3 separate regions of the Homo sapiens genome follow, and all the other regions are linked to region 1. The links are contacts of gene promoters, found by promoter capture Hi-C in blood cells and fetal thymus (Javierre and others, 2016). All regions are on one chromosome and are shown on one strand. Each heading gives the region's core, a stretch centred on a gene start or on the middle of the fragment in contact. The rest is flanking DNA. Distances are from core to core; before and after follow the strand shown.

Region 1 (3,594 bases), core at 86-2,585:
CAGATGACTTAGCGAAAGCTCCGTTTAACTGGCAGTCTAAATTTAGGGAGCATTACCGAGCCTATCTTGGGCAGACAATCGTTTAGGAGCTGTCACATAACCTCTAGACTTACGCTCCAATTTTCTAAAGAACAATTTCTCTCATAACAAACCAAATCAACCACCAGGAGCGGGTCCGTAAAGACGATGTCTGGGCAAGAACGAAATCTAATCCCGGAAGTGCCTTTTCCTCATCTTAGCCGCACCCTCGTTACGTGGCTCTCCAAAACTCCAAAGTCGGAGTACCCTAGACATGGAACAACCTCCAAAAAGTTTCAGGCCTAGCCAAGGTTGGGACTAATACGCCGCGAAATAATCGGGGAGATATGAGAAGTCTGTGGCTGTGAGACTGTGCGCGGTTAACACCGCTGCCCCTTTTGCCCAACCCCTAGAAAGTTCCCCAACTCTGACTGCCCCCCAGTGCGAGGGCCGCTACCAGTTCTAGGGTGAGTCCGGCCTCCCTGCCCCGCCCCGGCGCCTCAGACCCTCTCTACACGCCCGCCCCACAACCCCGCGTCGCCCGCAAAGTTCAATGTGTACCGGAGGTTAGCGGAGGGAGGCAGAATCCGGAAAGAGAGACTCCGCCAGTGGATAGCGGCGGTTGGCCATAACCTACTCCGACCTCCAGATACGCGGGAGGTGGGCGGCGCTGCCCTCAGTCGGTGGGTCACTCACCCCTCGCTTCAGGCAAGCCCCTCAGCGACGTCTCTCCTTGCCGACTGCGGCCATCTTGTATATGGAATGTCGGGGACCTACGTCATCACGCTGCGTCCTGAGACGCCACCAAGCGACCGGAGGGGCGGAGAGAGTAGGATGCCTGTCAACCAATGGGAAGAAAGCAGAGCTCTCAAAAGAGGAACGAGCCGCCGCTCTCCTCCCCGCCCGCCCCGCGGGTCAGTGGCTGCTGCTTACAGAGGGAGGAGCCAGCCACAGGGCCCATCCCGTCGGTCCCGCCCCTCGGGGCGAAAAGGCATTCTGGAGCAACCGAACCTGCTAACGGAACTTGGGCGCGTAGGCGGGGCCCGGGTCGAGATTCGTCCAATCAAAGCTCTGGCGGGGGCGAACGCAGCCAGTTGCGACATCGTGGTTGGCGGCGGCTGAGCCGGCCGCTCTTGCCCCCGGGAGCTGCCAGCCCACTGGCTGGGGAGGACCCCGAACGGAACGCCGGCTGGGTGGCGGGGCGGGGCCGCGCCCATGCGTCCGAAGCGTGGGCCAATGAACGGCGGCGGCTGCGGCCCGGGGGCGGGGTCCGGGGCGGGAGGAGAAGCGTTGGGCCGCGGTCGCGGGGCCGTCTCAGGCTGCCGTCCCGCCCCTCCCGTCCGGCCGCCGCCGCCGCCACCGCCGCCACCGCCTGGGGGTTGGTTGAGGCGGACGGCGGGGTCCGGGCCGGAGTACGTCGTTCCCGCTGCGCTAGGGGAAGCGGGCAGGTGAGTGCTGGCGGCGGTCTCTGCGCCCGCGCGGCCCGCGGGGGAAACTCGCGCCGCGTCTCCGAGCTCTGCGAGGCCGTCCCTCGCCCTGGCCAGCGCCCCTCGGCCGAAGTCCGGCCCGCGCCCCCGCCAGGGTCCCCGCCGGCCGCTGTGGCCCCGGGGCTTGAAGGGGCAGGTGTGCGCTCGGGGGCCAGGGCGAGGAGGGCCCGGCGGGGTCGGAGGGCGCCGGTCGGCCTCTGCCCGGGCGCCCTGCGGGGCGAGAGGCGCGCGCTCGCCGCTGCCCTGTCCCCTCTGGCGCCCACGCTCCCGGGCCCCGCGCCACCCGGTCTCGAGGTGGTGCCAGGTGCAGGCAGCGCTCTCCCCGAGCTTGCCCCGCTGTCCCCGGCCCTCGCGCCTGCTCTCGGGTGGGGCCCGGGCCCCTCGCGCTAGTCGGCTCGGCTCTGCGCGCGGCCGGGTCGCGCTCCCATTTCCTTCCTTCCTCCCGTCACCCCGCTGCTCGGGGAAGGCTGTGCGGTTTTATGTTCCTCTCTGCGAGTTCTCGGTGCCCACCAGGGTGCCCGGGGACCAGCCCCCGCCTCCTCCCGCGCCGTCCAGTTAGGAAGACGGACGTAGGAAATAGGTCGTCTTTCTTCCCACGCGCCCCTGGCCGTGCTCCACACGCGCAGTGCCCTACTAGGGAGAGGCAATTCGGTGCTTTAGAGTTTGTCATTCCGGCGTTAACTCTTCCTCCTCGTGGCTCCAGCCCGGCGATGCAACTCTTGTCTTTTCCCGGTCTCCACTTGGGAAAAGGAGCTGACAGTGACGCGCGCCCCTGGCTGCGGGGCTCACCCCTGCCCGGCCGGTGTTGGGAGGAGGGCATTTCAGTGTTGCAAAGGCATTCGCGGGTTAGGACCACTCGGACCGTGTTATTTTGCTTTTCTAAATAAATAAGGTGATGTTTCAAAAGCAAAAATACTTTTAAAGTATGCTGACAAATCAATTTTGCTTTTAAGAATCCTCGAAGAGTTACCCCATCTTCGTAGCCTGATTGTGGTGCTGATGAGGCCACTATAAATGCGTTTGTCAGAACTCAGAACCGGACACTGAAAAGTGTGAATTTTATCTTATGTAAAATATACCTCTCCCTCTCCCGTTTTTCTTCTTGAAATGACCTTGCCAGTATTTCAAAACTGAACTAACCAGTAATAATCTCGGAGAAGTGTTTATTATTTTAAGCGAATACATTTAACCCAAGAATATAGCAAAATAAAGCAGTCTTCCTCTCCACTGTTAAAATTTGCCAAGACTTGCTTGAACCTTGCTGTATGTACTGTGTTTATACGGGCTACCATGCGTGAAAGTCCAGCAGTACTGGATTAGTCCCAAGGGCTGCCGTGATTGATACTTTGGTGAAATTCCAACAGTTTACCGAGGAGTTTTTCTTCGGCCTAAGAAAGTAGTTTGCAAAGCCAAGTTCTCAAACAGCTACAGAACCTCTTTATTGGGACCCCAGACAACCTTGGATTTTAGCCTTCTGCTACCCCTTTCCTGTCTGCCCTCCAAGTGATTGTAAGTTAATATCTGAAATGGAACTGTAGTCTGAAGGAGTAAAATGGTTGCTTCTCCAGTGTGCTAACATCTCAGTGCTTTTTTTTCCTGGAATTGGAGTGGTGTTGGATTTGAAGATTAGAACATCTTATGTCTGTATGTACGGTTATAGCGAAAGCTTCTCGTAAGAGCACAGTGACTGTCAGTAAGAAAGTGATGGCTGCTGCGCTGCTCTTCCGTGCCGTGGACATTTAGGCCACATTTTAAATGATAATTAAGCTTTTGCTTTAGAAGCCACTGGATAATGAGAAAAATATGGAGGTGATATTTTTCCTATTTAAAGCTTAACCACTGGACAACTGTTTTGGTTTTGAGAGTTCTGATAAACGGTCACAACAGCCTCCTTGGAACACAGTACTCTCCTGCCTGGAGGAGAATGACAGGATGACGGCGCCGGGGAAGGTATGACCATCAGCGACGGAGGCTTGCTTGGAGTGAATATTTAGTAGACAATCATTGAATTCAATGAAAACCAGGTGCATAGTTTGTGCTGTGTAGAGTTGTAGTAAAAATATGAGCAAAAATCCTACCTCCAAGTCAG
Region 2 (3,417 bases), core at 873-3,372, 3.0 Mb after region 1:
TTTTTATTTCATAATAGTATGTCATGTTATGCCTTAGTGTTGGTAGGAATAACAAAATGACCACTTGTTGAACTCCTTCAATGTGCCAGGCACTTCGTATCTCTCATCTCTACCGTTTGTAACAATCCTGCAAGCCTGATTATTTTCCTATTTCACAGATGAGAAAACTGAGGCCCAGCCACAATTGGAATTAGCTCTCCTGCCTCCTGCTGACATTATCCCTTAGCACTAAGCCTCCCGATACTCCAGGGCTCAAATGCTGTCCCATTGGGCAGTTGGGGGTAGAGAGCAGCCCCTGGAGGCCCAAGGTGTGGGCCTGGCCAGGAAGCTTCCACCAGGCAGAAGCTGGTTCTTTCTCACCAAGCCCATAGGAGGAATACGTGCGAAGGTCCAGAAAACCAGAAAGGTAGGTCAGGGGTTCAACAAGCCAAGGGAAGTAGCAGCAGCTGTGAAAGCTGAGAACTGGAGCCAGGAATGATAATGGTGACGATGAGGCTGACGTGATGCGGGATCATGAGTGCTTGCTGTGTGCTAAGCTCAGAGCTGTGTTTACAGGAAACAAGAAGGAACGCAGTGAAGAGCTATTTGCTCTTCTGGGTAGCTACGGGGATGGGCTGGCCAGTCAGAAGGCTGGGAAAGGGTCTGGAAGAGCACCAGTGCCCAATAATTTAACAGGGACAGAACACTGCTCCCAAGGAACCTGGGGGAATGGCCCAAGCAGCCAGCACCATACACACATTTCTTTAAAAAAAAAAAAAAAAGAGTTTGTCGGCCAGGCACGGTGGCTCACACCTATAATCCCAGTACTTTGGGAGGCCGAGGCGGGCAGATCACGAGGTCAGGAGATCGAGACCATCCTGGCTAACACAGTGAAACCCCGTCTCTACTAAAAATACAAAAAAATTAGCCGGGCACTGTGGTGTGCACCTGTAGTCCCAGCTACTCGGGAGGCTGAGGCAGGAGAATGGCGTGAACCCGGGAGGCGGAGTTTGCAGTGAGCCGAGATGGTGCCACTGCACTCCAGCCTGGGCAATAGAGCAAGACTCCATCTCAAAAAAAAAGAAAAAAAAATTAATCAGGCCTGGTGGCATGTGCCTGTAGTTCCAGCTACTTGGGAGGCTGAGGCAGGAGAATTGCTTGAACCCGGGAAGCAGAGGTTGCAGTGAGCCAAGATTGCACCACTGCACTCCAGCTTGGGCAACTGAGCGAGACTCCATCCCCCCACAAAAAAAAAAAAAAGGATTTGTCATTTGACTTCACAATATATCCATAAATTCTCATACGATAATAACACCCTCCCACCACCAAATCCCCACATAGAATGACTCCCCAGGAGGAGTGCCCTGTGTATTTCATGGCTTCCTGTGCCCCAACCCATGATTACACTCCCCACCCTCCCCCCAGCCCCACAATTACAGCTAGACCTGCACCAAGCTTTGCTGGGGGTCCTGGACATTCACATTATCCTTGAATTCATTTCATACCAATATGTATCGGGTGAATTTCAAGTTCATCAAAATAGTTGAAGACAGTCTCATCGTCGATATTGATGTCCCGGTAGTTGCTCAGAGCCCGGAGGAATCGGTCTTGGCTGTAGTGGGTCCCCGCCACGATGCTCTCAGGAAGGTTTATCACACGCTCCTTCAGAAACTCATCCGAAGCATCCAGTGCACAAACGAATTCTGGGGAGAAGGACAGACTCCAGAGTTGGCACAATACAGCGCAGCTAACTAGCAGGGTGCTGGAGAACGCATGGCCCCCTGGTTACCAGCCAAGACCTCCTGTTGCCACAAATAGCCTGTCCAATTGGCTTTGCTGCCTCTCATGGAGGATAAATAGATGAAAATCACCCCATTTCCAGAGACCACCCTATGAGGCCCAATTAGTATTTTGTGCAATCTATTATTTTCCCTTTCTTCCCCCCTCCCTCTCTTCCTTCCTTCCTCCCTCCCTTCCCCCGCCCTCCCTCTGTCCTTCCTTCCTTCCTTCCTCCCTTTCTAACTAATAAAAGCAGCAGAAATCATAAGTAGCAAATCTCAGATAACCCTGTGATATCAGCTTCCTAGTTAATTTTCACATTGTCTCTTTTCTCTTTTTTAAAAAATACATACTTATATGTATGTATATTTATTTTAGAGAGATACAAGGTCTTACTATGTGCGGGCTGATCTCAAATTCTTGCCTTAAGCAATCCTCCCGCTTTGGCCTCCCAAAGTGCTGGCAGGGATAAGCCACGGCTCCTGGCCTCACGCTGCCTCCTATCCAGCACAATTATCACAGGCTTCCAAAGAGAGCTATGGCTACAAGCAAAATGCTTTGATGGCCAGTTTGCCAAATTAATAAAATGGGAACTCCCCTTGGAATTTTCATGGATCCAGCTCTTTCATCAATGCCATTGGCTATGAAACACTTACGTACAACATGTTATGGTCAGCACTTATCAAATTCAACACACAGATCATGTTAATAATGATGACCATTTTACCCATCTGTGATTTTCTTTTAAACTGTGAAAGCAGCTGTTCCTCCAGCTTCTAGTACAAATTCAATAGATAATTGTTGAGTGAATGAGAGATTTAAGTGTGGATCAGTGAAATAAACTTTCCAAGGTGAGTTGTGATTCTTAGATGTTCTCAACTACAGGAGCAGGGTATACTGGTGCCCAGATCAGTGTCTGGGTGCATCACAAATAGCTTGCTATCTATTAGAGCTCAACAGAACTTGGGAATGATTTGATTTTTGTTCTAAAATTGTATTGGCTTATAACATCATAATGCCATTCTCGTTTACTTGCATTCTAATAAGCTTCCTTGAGTGGGTGAAAAAGGTAAGTGTAATGGGGAAAGCCCACAGGAGGTGTGTCCCCGAGGCATGTGGACATGTGTGAACATCATCTGCTGCAGATGTTAACTGTGAAAACAAAGGCTGAGACAGCGTGTGGAATAAGATCCTATAAATTCATAATAGTTTGATACTACCTCCATTCTGCATACAAGAGGTGTTTTCGCAAGTAAGTTGTTCCTATTTTTTGCTCATCTTTTACCATTTGATTGTCATGATTTTCATGAGTGGCTGCCTTTTGAAAAGGAAGGTAGACATATGAAGCCTCAAATGCTGGTACGGTACTGAAATCAAAAGGATGTCAACAGATTCGCTGAAAATTGAATCCATTTAAGCTCTATGATGTCGGACATCTATATGAAAACTTATTTTCTTTTTAGATTTTTCCCTAACATGATACTCATTTGTTAGAAAATGTATGAACTATGTTAATAATCTATGAATTTCAAAAATATATTCTATCTTTCTTCCAGGCTGATCAGGAGGTGGAAGATTCCAGTTAATCAAATAATGAGTAACATCCTTGGCTTTCCAATTTTCAAAGATTTTTAATATGATAAAATATACTTCTCACTA
Region 3 (3,422 bases), core at 146-2,645, 3.1 Mb after region 1:
AATTCAGGTGAGTAGTGAGAGATGCTGGAGATCAGGACTAAGGCACATGGCTATGAGAATGGAAAGGAGGGGCTGACTGGACACCTGACAGAGAGGTGTGCTGAGGACCCCGTGACCAATAGGATTCAGGAGTCAAGGGCAAGGGAAGAGCCCACAGCTCTCTGAGGTTTTCAGCTTTGATGGAAGGCGAGTGCATAATGAACGGGATAAAAGACACTATTCGTTGTCTACAAACTTACATTTCCTCTTCCTTTTCTCCAACAGAACCCCAATTTTGCTTCAGATACTCCTCAGCCTGCGGGAAATTAACTCCCTCTTCTGGCTTAAAGGATGAGCCTAATTGATCTAAGGGTAAGTGACTGGCTCAGGAAAGGGACAATGATTCCATTCACGACAGTGAGACTCAAAGAGATGCTTGCCAGGGACTGCTGGCAATGTCCATCGTCCTTTCTCTGAGACCTTCTGGAAGTTTGCTTTGCCAGAGCGTCACTGTGTATGAACTAAGGCCCTGGACTGTTGCAGCCTTACTGCCAGCCTGAAGATAAAGTCATCCCTCAAGGAGGGCAGAGCCCAGGAAGGGGCAGGAAGAGGAGCTGGAGCCTGTGGATCAGCTCTGAAGCCGGTTCCACTTCTGGGCCACTAGCTACATAAGCTGATGAATTTCCTTATTTATTAAGCCAGTTTGGGTCACCTCTGTTTTCTATTACATGCGGTCCAACACAGCCCCAATTGATAGAGATAGCAAGGTCTTTAATAAAAATCAGTAGTACAAAGTCATACAAAGAGTGGTTTTGGGCCGGGCGTGGTGGCTCAGGCCTGTAATCCCAGCACTTTGGGAGGCCAAGGTGGGCAGATCATCTAAGACCAGAAGTTCAAGACCAGCCTGGACAACTTAGTGAAACCATGTATCCACTAAAGATACAAAAAATTAGCTGGGTGTGGTGGCACGCGCTTGTAGTCCCAGCTACTCGGGAGGCTGAGGCAGGAGAATCGCTTGAACCCAGGAGGCGAAGGTTGCAGTAAGCCGAGATCGCGCCACTGCACTTCAGTCTGGGCAACAGAGTGAGACTCCATCTCAAAAAAAAAAAAAAAAAAAAAAAAAAGATTGTTTTTGTAGCGGGGTCTAATAAATATGATTTTGGATATGTTGATTCAGCAATGCCTGCAGGACAACCGGGGACTGGTCTAGGAGGCAGTCGGATTTGGAGGCTGCAGACAGGCAAAAAAAGCACTGGCTATATGGGGAGCTGAAGCTATAGGGTTGGATAAGATTTAGGAAGGTCATCTGTTGTAGGAAGGGAGTGAGCTCTGGGGAAAACCGCATTTAAAGGGTAAAAGAGGAAAAGGAGCCAGAGAAAGAAGCTGGGAAGGAGGACTTGGGCGCTTAGTCAGTGCAGAGCCGAGGCACAAGAAGGGAAGGCGAGTTTCTCTCGGGAAGCCAGGCTGCTGCTGTGAAGCCAGGTGAGCTAAGCCCCTCGGGAGTCAGGGGACTGCTGGTGACATCGGCCAGGGCACCTCCTGTGAAGTGTTGTGGGCAGGGCCAGCCAGCATTGGATAGACCAGTGAATGGCGGGGGTGAAGGGGTGAGACCTGCAAATGCGGCTGGTCTCCTGAAGTTCAGTGGTGGCAGGGGCCGGGGCAGAGAAAGAGGCTGGTGGCCAGCAGGGAGGCCAAGTTAAGTGTTTTTTACAGCAGGAATGATTTGAGCATATGTGTAGGTATAGAGGAAGAAGCCAGTGGCAAGAAGAGAGAGAAGGGAGGTGAATGGGAAAGAATACCCGGAAGACAGGGGAAGGAGGTGAATGGGAAGGTCCCAAAGATGTCTGGAGGGGATGCATTCGTCCATTCCACAAGTGTTTATTGAGGCCACTTTGTGGCAGTGGCTGTGTTAGGTGCCACAGATACATGGATAAACACAGGGATAAACAAGTCACGGTCTCCACCCTCAAGGAGCTGACAGTCAGTGTCCATGGACCCCCACGATAGACAGGTGATAACAACGAGTGTGAAAAGCACTATGATCTAGGCAGGCAAAGGATGATATGGGAGCTCAGAAAAGAGCTCAGAATCCAAACTGGGAGTGAGGGAGAAGTAGGAATCATGAACGGCTTCCTGGAGGAAGAGACACAACTCTTGAAGGATGAATAAAAAAAAAAAGAGAGAAGGCCACTCCAGGGTACAGCATGTGGAAAGCTGTATGGTAGGCTCCAGAGAGTAGCAGGCAGGGTAAGGGAGGAGTTGGCCCAGGAGAAGAAGAGGGCCACTTCTTCTCAGACATTTAAATGTCTCAGGACTAGGACTGTGTTGAATTTGTCACGTGGAGACAGCATTGTTTCTGGAGACAGCAGTGGTATATTATTCCTGAGTGGTGCATTACCAAAGGATGTTTCTCTTAAAAAATTATTTTCATAAATATAAGAGACAGGATCTTGCTATGTTGCCCAGGCTGGTCTCGAACCCCTGGCCTTAAGCGATCCTCCCTCCTCAGCCTCCCAAAGTGCTGGGATTACAGGCGTAAGCCACCGCGCCTGGCCTATTTCTCCTTCACAGATGGCACCCATCATGGCACAGACTCGTCTTGGATAATGCAAGGCAGAATATGCTGAAGAGGAGAACTGTATGAGTCTGAAAGTCCAACTTAGATCCATCCTTTCCAACACTATCTAATTTAAACTCTTTGCTTTGGCCGAAAATTAAAAGTGGGGTCTGTGAGGTAAATCTCCATTACAGGAGAAAGCCATTCCCTCAACCTGGCCATGTCTGTGGAAGAGAGGGGAGGGGAGGCAAACAGTAAAACAAGTTGTCAAGGCGTTGGAGCGGAAGGTGACTCTTCCCTCTGTCTACTCCTGGCCAGAGCCTCCGGGACTTACAGAGTACGTCTCCACCGCAAAGTCAGGCCGCGGGCTGTCAGGCTTGGACAGCGTGCCCACAATCTGGAATGTGCCTTCCTTCACTTTGGTTGAGGAAGCTTCCAGCATAGCTGACTTATTTTCATCTTCCTCTTCCTCTTCCTCTGTAATTTCTTCAAGCGAAGCCCCAACTACACAGTTAGATAGAAACTGCAAGGAAACAGAAATTTCCCAAATGGTAAGAGAAAATTAGAGTCAGGGGGCCAGTGAATGATGATTCTAGAAACTTACCTTTCCCGAGTGCTTGCTGGGTGCCACCAAGGCAAAGCAAATGCTTTGCACACTGTCATCTCATTTAAGTTGATTGCATTCCTGGAGGAGTGGGTACTGTTATAATTCCCCATTTTACAGATGAGGAACTCAGGGTCAGAGAGCTTAATTAACTTGTTTCCGGATACTGCACTCCTCTAGCAGCAGGCAGAGCTGGGTCACAGTGATGATGTTTGTGTTGTCCAACAGAAATATAGAAATGTAATAGGAGCCACATAGGTTATTTTATTTTATTGTTAAAGA

What was found. The method cuts DNA at HindIII sites, captures the fragments that hold promoters and counts their contacts. A CHiCAGO score of 5 or more calls a contact.
Region 2: a contact is called between a fragment that was not itself captured here and the fragment with the promoter of SETD3 in region 1, in 1 of 17 cell types (naive CD4 T cells). The highest score is 6.7, in naive CD4 T cells.
Region 3: a contact is called between a fragment that was not itself captured here and the fragment with the promoter of SETD3 in region 1, in 10 of 17 cell types (neutrophils, non-activated CD4 T cells, naive CD4 T cells and 7 more). The highest score is 13.4, in neutrophils.

Annotation. Positions count from the first base shown.
Region 1 is chr14:99,478,600-99,482,193 of GRCh38, reverse strand. SETD3 (SET domain containing 3, actin N3(tau)-histidine methyltransferase) reads left to right here and starts at 1,335. Exons shown (of 13, transcript NM_032233.3): 1 at 1,335-1,466. CCNK (cyclin K) reads right to left here and starts at 785. Exons shown (of 11, transcript NM_001099402.2): 1 at 715-785. RefSeq lists enhancers at 525-894, 1,703-2,204 and silencers at 1,085-1,544, 1,655-1,854. The HindIII fragment of the contact is 7,554 bases long and covers 1-3,173 here.
Region 2 is chr14:96,476,730-96,480,146 of GRCh38, reverse strand. It overlaps AK7 (adenylate kinase 7), which reads right to left. Exons shown (of 18, transcript NM_152327.5): 15 at 1,485-1,682. Among named protein-coding and RNA genes, the nearest start is that of PAPOLA-DT, 24 kb to the left of the region's middle. The HindIII fragment of the contact is 1,371 bases long and covers 1,437-2,807 here.
Region 3 is chr14:96,397,712-96,401,133 of GRCh38, reverse strand. It overlaps AK7 (adenylate kinase 7), which reads right to left. Exons shown (of 18, transcript NM_152327.5): 2 at 2,871-3,059. Among named protein-coding and RNA genes, the nearest start is that of AK7, 7.3 kb to the right of the region's middle. The HindIII fragment of the contact is 3,151 bases long and covers 1-2,970 here.